Regions from separate parts of the Homo sapiens genome. Here region 2 is linked to region 1. Evidence: promoter capture Hi-C in 16 types of primary human blood cells and fetal thymus (Javierre and others, 2016). All regions are on one chromosome and are shown on one strand. Each heading gives the region's core, a stretch centred on a gene start or on the middle of the fragment in contact. The rest is flanking DNA. Distances are from core to core; before and after follow the strand shown.

Region 1 (3,404 bases), core at 211-2,710:
CTTTGGGAGGTCGAGGCGGGAGGATCATTTGAGCCCAGGAGTTAGACCAATCTGGGCGACATAGTGAAATCCTGATTCTACCCAAAAAAAAAAAAAAAACTGATTGCAGAATTAGCATTCTCTGTAAGGGGAAAAATAAGACAATAAGCAACTTGCTTAGTCTCAAAGCTTAATGTCAAAAAAAATTAAACAGATGGGATATTTGGCTATTTATATTCTGAATTTCAACTGTGACACAAGACACAAGACCTGCTGGGGACAGGTATTAGTTGTAGTACAACCATATCTGAGGAACGTTTACTGCTTTATGCTTGTACCTGTGTGATACTGAAGGAAGGTTATAACAGCAAGAGATAGTTGTGTGTGCTGAGGAAGAAGAGTCTAAATTCTGGTGGGCCTTAAAATCCAGATGAAGTTTTAAATTGACTCCACAGGTGGTAACGCCCTAAGGTCACCTCTTCACTAGGAACCTGGCATAAAAACATCTGTATGGTTCAGATTCGTTTCCAAAGACACTTTCCCCCTATTTATTAACTAATTTGATCTTCGTATAGACATGAACCTGGTTTTAAAACTCAACTGACCTAGACTGGAGACTGGGGGATGGCAAGGTTATACCCGAAACATACTTTAGAGTTCAAAGCTTTCGCAGGAATATCACTTCTGCTGAAGCCCACAACCCTGGAAGGCCGCAGGGCAAAGAACATTAACCCCACTTTTCAGACAACGAAACCGAGGCTGCGCTAAACAGACTACTGTACAAAAGATCACAGGTCCAGCCAAGTGGCGGACTGAGACTTCCCCCAGGATATCAGACTCCAAATCCTGTGCTCCTTCCCGTACACAACTGAGAGGGGGCTGCACTCACAAACTTTAAAGATCGGACTTGGGGTTTTTCGCAGGCCTGCCAAGAAAAAGCAGGAAGTACATGCTCCTTTATAGATTGCTCACTCCCAGCCCGTAGCCCGGGGCTCCCGGGCAGCGGAGGAGGCTCAAAGGCGAGGCTCGAAGCGAAGCCCGGAAACCGCCGGCAGCCCTGGGGGCCCACGGCCCCGCAGCCCCGAGGGGGTAACCAGGGACCCCGCTCAATACCTGTTGAAACCCAGAAAAAGCACGTCCTTTCCGCCAGGATCATTTGGGGCGAGCGCCCAAAGCGAGCACGAGCCCCAGTGAGTGCAAAAGAGCCCCGGGAGGGTCCCTCTCAACCGCGGGCCCGCAGGGGTCAGAAGGCGGGAGCTTCCCAGTAACCTCCGCCCCAGGCAGGGGGCGGCCCCTCGCGTCACATGAGGAAAAAAAATACCAGCAACAAACGACGGAATGGAAGTCTTGTCCCGGGCTGTGAAGGGAGAAGTGGGGATTAAAAATCCTAGCTTGAGGTACAGAGGGAGGGGATACGGGGCTGGTTGTTACCGGCGCGCTGTTGCTCTCCGCTTCCGCCGTCTCCGCGAAGCTCTATCTCTTCCGCTCGCGCCGCTGGGGCGCGCGTCAGGCCTCGGCTCCGCCCCCAACGCCGTGGGGCCTTCTGGGGGTTGTAGTTTCCGCGAGGCCCGGCCGCGCCCACTGAGTTCAGGTCACGTAGGGGAGAAGCTGGCAAAATGGCGAGTGCCGGAGAGCATTTCTGCTCCTGTCCCTTCAACCCTTCCTCATTCCTCTCGGCTATATACGTGCGCAAATCTCCTTACATTCCACTCAATTATACCATCTCACTTCCTCCGTTCACAGCCAAGTTTTTTGAAAAAGATAATCTACACTGTCTCTACTTGCTCATCTGTGTTCACTCCTCATCGCAGCTTCCGCCCCCATGGAAAATGCCTTGTTGTCATAAGTGTCCTTGTTGCCAAACTCATTGGAGGTATTTCCGGACTCATCTAACTCAAGCTTTAGTCATTTGACGCTATTGGGCATTATCACTTATTTTCTATGACACTATCCAGGTTTTCCTTCTCTGAATTCATTCTACTTTGTTTCCTCTAACTTACCTCTAAAATATTGGTGTTTTCCAGAGTTCTTAAAATTGGGGTGGGAGAGGGGACACTCCAGTCCCTTCTCACCTGAGCTCATTGTTTGTATTCCCAACTTCCTAGACAAGACCTCTCCTCATCCATGCCCACAGGCATCTCCAGTGTCCTTGAAAAGTGAACTACTGGGGCCAGGAACAGTGGCTCATGCCTGTAATCCCAGCACTTTGGGAGGCCAAGGCAGGTGGATCACCTGCGGTCAGGAGTTCGAGACCAGCCTGACCAACATGGTGAAACCCTGTCTCTACTAAAAGTACAGAAATTAGCTGTGCGTGGTGGTGGGCACCTGTAATCCCAGCTACCCAGGAGGCCGAGGCAGGAGAATTGCTTGAAGGAGAATCGCTTGAACCCGGGAGGCGGAGGTTGCAGTAAGCCAAAATTGCACCACTGCACTCCAGCCTGGGCAACACAGGGAGACTCCGTCCCCCAAAAAAAGAAAAGTAAACTACTACCCCTCCTCCCTACTCATTAATATTCACTCTTTAACCTGATTCCTCCTTTCTCACTTCCTCTTCCTCCAATATTCAAATGGTCACCAAATCTTGGAGATTCTATTGTAGCAGGACGAGCCGCAGACAAAACCTCTCAGACACCAAGTTGTAGAACGAAGGGCTTTATTCAGCTGGGAGCATCGGCAAGCTACTGTCCTAAAATCCAAGCTCCCCGAGTGCACAATTTCTGTCCCTTTTAAGGGCTCACCACACTAAAGATTTCACATGAAAGGGTCGTGATTGATTGAGCAATCTGGGGTGTATGTGACAGGGGCTTCATGCAGTGGTAGTCAGAGTGAAACAGAACAGAGTACAATGTTCTTCCATACAATGCCTGGAATCTATGCTAAGTCATGAGTTGATTTTTAACTACTAGGTTTAGGCCAGGCAGGCCCAGGCCTGGTTTCAGGTCTGGTTTTGGGTCTGGTGCCTGGTGCTGGGCTGCCTGCCTTTGGTTTCACTTCCTTGTTTTTTTTCTTAAAACAGGTACTGAGTATAAAACAATATAAAACAATATGAGAGGGTCTCTTTCTTCTCTCACTATCTCCCAAGTACTCCTTGAATCTGTTCCTTCTTCAGGACTCCTAACTCATGACTCAGCTGCTCCTGTGGCCCCACCCAGAGGTGGACTCAGAGCATGAGGACTGTTTTCCACACCCCTATGATTTCATTCCCAACCCATCAGCAGCACCCATTCCCTAGCCCCCTGCCCACCAAAATGTCCATAAAAACCCTAACCTCTGAACCTTCAGGGAGTTTGATTTAAGATAACTCTGTCATCAATTAAATTCTTTACTGCTCTGCCATGGTCTCAGTGAATTGGTTTTGTCTGTGCAGTGGGCAGGAAAAACTCACCAGGCAATCAGAATCCAGTATTGTGGTTGGGAGGTTCAGT
Region 2 (3,558 bases), core at 1,046-3,545, about 14 Mb after region 1:
TCAAGTTTCACCCTAAACCTGTGTAATAGGCCTGATAACAGCCGCCTCTGCCTTGCACCCAGGATTGCTCTGAGGACTAAGATGTTTCCATTGCGCGTAATTTGATAGGTGAAGAGCTAGTTGTGGAATACGCGAGAGAGTTACTTTCTTTTTCACTCTCCCTCTATTTCAACAGATATTTACTGAATGCTCAACTTCGTACCAAGCTCTGTTCTAGAAATATATACAAATGAATCAGCCGGGCGTGGTGGCTCAAGCCTGTAATCCCAGTACTTTGGGAGGCCGCGGCGGGTGGATCACTTGAGGTTAGGAGTTCGAGACCAGCCTGGCCAACGTGGGGAAACCCTGTCTCTACTAAAAATACAAAAATTTGCCAGGCGTGATTGGTGCCTGTAATCTAAGCTACTTGGGAAGCTAAGGCAGGAGAATCACTTGAACCCAGGAGGCGGAGGTTCCAGTGAGCCCAGATCCCGCAACTGCACTCCAGCCTGGGCGATAGAGGGAGACTCAGTCTCAAAAAAAAAAGAAACCAAAAAAACAAAAACAAAAAAACAGCAAATGAATTAAACCCGTGTGTGCTACCACTATTTTAACAAAATAAAGTCCTTGCTCTGTGGCTTTACTTTCTGGTAGAGACAGAACATAGAAAAAATATAATGTGATAACTTAATACCATGAAGAAAGAGCAGATTAAAACCCTGAAAGGGTGATAAGGTGATTAACAACATGCAAAATTCATGAACCTTTATCTCCTAAGCAGTAGTTAATTGTGATTTATGATTCCTAATCATGTAAACCTTGACAAATATAAAGACTTGCCTTCTATGTGGATAATAAAAGAGTCTGGCAGCAACACAATTCTTATCTCTTTACGCTGAAAATGGCAGGAAAACACTAGAGAAATCTCACGAAACTGAACAGATCAAGCATGATCAGTTTAATTTTTATTTTGATCTATGCCCAATTTTATTAGCTAGCAAATAGGTTTTCTGTTTGGCTCCTTCAGTGATAGTCTTTTTTTCTAGAGCTTCTGTTATCAGCAAAGAGAAAGGATTTACAACACAGTACCAGAATAAAGATCTTGAAGTCAATGACTCAAGCTTTCTTCAAGATTCCTATTAAAGCTTATTCTCTCCATATTGGAAGAAAAATGTCTGATTTCATATTTTCCTTTCTCAAGTAAAGGGCTTGTATTGTTGTTTCCACAGGGGTCAAATATTTTGAAGCAGGGGAGGAATCTGGTCATATCATTGGGAAATATATGCTCTTGTGGCAGTGTAGGAAGGGAGAGGTTCCATGGACCAGGAGACCAATTAGGAATTTATTGTAGTTGTTCAACCAAAAGGCAATAAAGGCTGGAATTAAGCCAGTAGAAAGACACAGAGGGGTTTATGACAGAGATATATTGCTGAAGTGGAGTTTGCAGGATTGAATGGTCGGTCAAATATAGCTGATAAGAATGAGGAAGGCTCCCTGAGTAATCCTTCTGAACTGGGTGGATAATTTTATCATTAATTTAGCAATAGGATACAGGGAGAGATACAAGTGAGGGGAAGTAGATACATAAAACTTAGTTTGAAGTGTTTAATTGTTAAGTTCTCTGCTTCTAAGTTCTTAGAGTGTAGGATAGAGAAAAGGACAAGCCGGGAATGGTGGCACATGCATGTAGTCCCAGTTACTGGGGAGGTAGCCCAGGAGCTTAAGGCCGGCCTGGGCAACATAGGGTGATGCTGTCTTTAAAAATAAATAAGTAGGCTGTGTGTGGTGGCTCACGCCTGTAATCCCAGCACTTTGGGAGGCCGAGGCGGGTAGATCACAAGGTCAGGAGATTGAGACCATCCTGGCTAACATGGTGAAACCCCGTCTCTACTAAAAATACCAAAAAAAAAAAAAAAAAAAAAAAAAATTAGCAGAGCATGGCGGTGGGCACCTGTAGTCCCAGCTGCTCGGGAGGCTGAGGCAGGAGAATGGCATGAACCCAGGAGGTGGAGCTTGCAGTGAGCCGAGATCGTGCCACTGCATTCCAGCCTGGGCAACAGAGCGAGACTCCACTTCAAAAAAATAAAAAATAAAAAATAAAAGAATAAATAAGTAAATAAAAAGGAAAAGACATGATTCGTAAATTCCAATACTATATATATGTCACGGTTTTTATTACAGTCTGCTGATGAATTCCTTATTCTCCACTTGCTGGCTAAGTGAGATATGCTGCATTATAGTGGAGAAAACTCAGAGCCAGGACAAAAGATAAAATATTTTATTTACTTTCAGTTAAAATAAATGCTCTCACCTTGCCCTACTATGCTTTCCCATCAGAAGATGTGGTATGAATGAAACAGAGTTGGAAAGGGAGTTTGCTGGGGCTTTAACCTCTGCCCTCCCTGATGGAGTCTCCCAACAAAGGGAAGGTGCTTCTTCCTGAAAGGTTGCAGATGTTTCTGAATGTAGGGACCAATTGGCACCTGCTTCTCATGTGGTTGCTAAGTGGCAGACAACAGAGCAGGTAGGAAAGTTACAAGATCTTCCCCATCTTGGCCTTGTTTTCCCTTGGAATCCCTAAGGTCTAGATAAACACAAGAATGTGATTGTGAGCACGCACCTGCTTGTTTGCACCCTTCGAGATGCTGCTCAGTAGTGAGGCGACACTAGAAGTATGTGTGGGTGAGATGCCCAGATGGGCACCAACAGACCATTTAGTGTATGACAAGGCAGAGCCATTTGACTCTGCTTGGGTGAGAGATCAAACTGTGCCAACTTCAAAAGTTATATCCTGCCAGCCACAGAAAGACAATGAAGCCATGGGGACTACTCCCTTTAGATTTTGCTGAACGGCAGCTGCATGACAATGCAATGACTAAGAGGTAGAGTGGAAGGACAGAGAAGCTACACTTTTTCCCCTCCTGTTTAATGTAAATGTTTCTAATCCAGTTGTGGCCCAGGAGAGGAGAAAGGACTTTGAACTCCAATGTGACTGATGGTAATAAATCCTGAAACTGACAGACAAATTGTCAGACTGTTCTGAGCTTGCAAAATGGAATAAATAGGCTGTCTGCTCTAAACTGACTGGGGCCTTGAAAATGACATCGATGGCAGTTTAAAGAAAAATGTAGCTCAATTTTGCATTCACCTAACTGACAATATATACCCCTCACATATGTGCAACTAAATGCTGTAAGTGGGCCAAAGGACAAGGTCATTAGTGGGGTAGTATCTGTGGAGGGACAGATATTGGCAGAAAATTGAGACTAGTGTCATGCTTTCTGGTCAGTCTTCCAAGAGGAAACCAACACTCAGAAATTGTAGTAGCTTTTCTTAAGAAAAAGGTATTAGGTTGTTCTTGCACTGCTATAAAGAAATACCCGAGGCTGGGTATTTTATAAGAAAAGAGGTTTAATTGGCCCATGATTCTGCAGGCTATACAGGAAGCATAGTGGCATCTGATTCTGGGGAGGCTTCAGGAAGCTTCCAATCATGGCAGAAGGCAAAGAGGGGCAGGTACATCACATGGCAAAAGGAAGAGCAAGAGAGAGAGAGTTGGCGGGGAAGGGCCAAACACTT

Evidence for each region. The method cuts DNA at HindIII sites, captures the fragments that hold promoters and counts their contacts. A CHiCAGO score of 5 or more calls a contact.
Region 2: a fragment that was not itself captured here is called in contact with the fragment with the promoter of R3HCC1L in region 1 in 1 of 17 cell types (non-activated CD4 T cells); the score reaches 6.9 in non-activated CD4 T cells.

Annotation. Positions count from the first base shown.
Region 1 is chr10:98,132,713-98,136,116 of GRCh38, reverse strand. It overlaps R3HCC1L (R3H domain and coiled-coil containing 1 like), which reads right to left and starts at 1,460. Exons shown (of 10, transcript NM_001351015.2): 1 at 1,411-1,460. RefSeq lists enhancers at 762-901, 244-1,033. The HindIII fragment of the contact is 1,235 bases long and covers 646-1,880 here.
Region 2 is chr10:84,135,430-84,138,987 of GRCh38, reverse strand. No RefSeq gene overlaps it. Among named protein-coding and RNA genes, the nearest start is that of GHITM, 2.3 kb to the left of the region's middle. RefSeq lists an enhancer at 1-111. The HindIII fragment of the contact is 2,338 bases long and covers 1,127-3,464 here.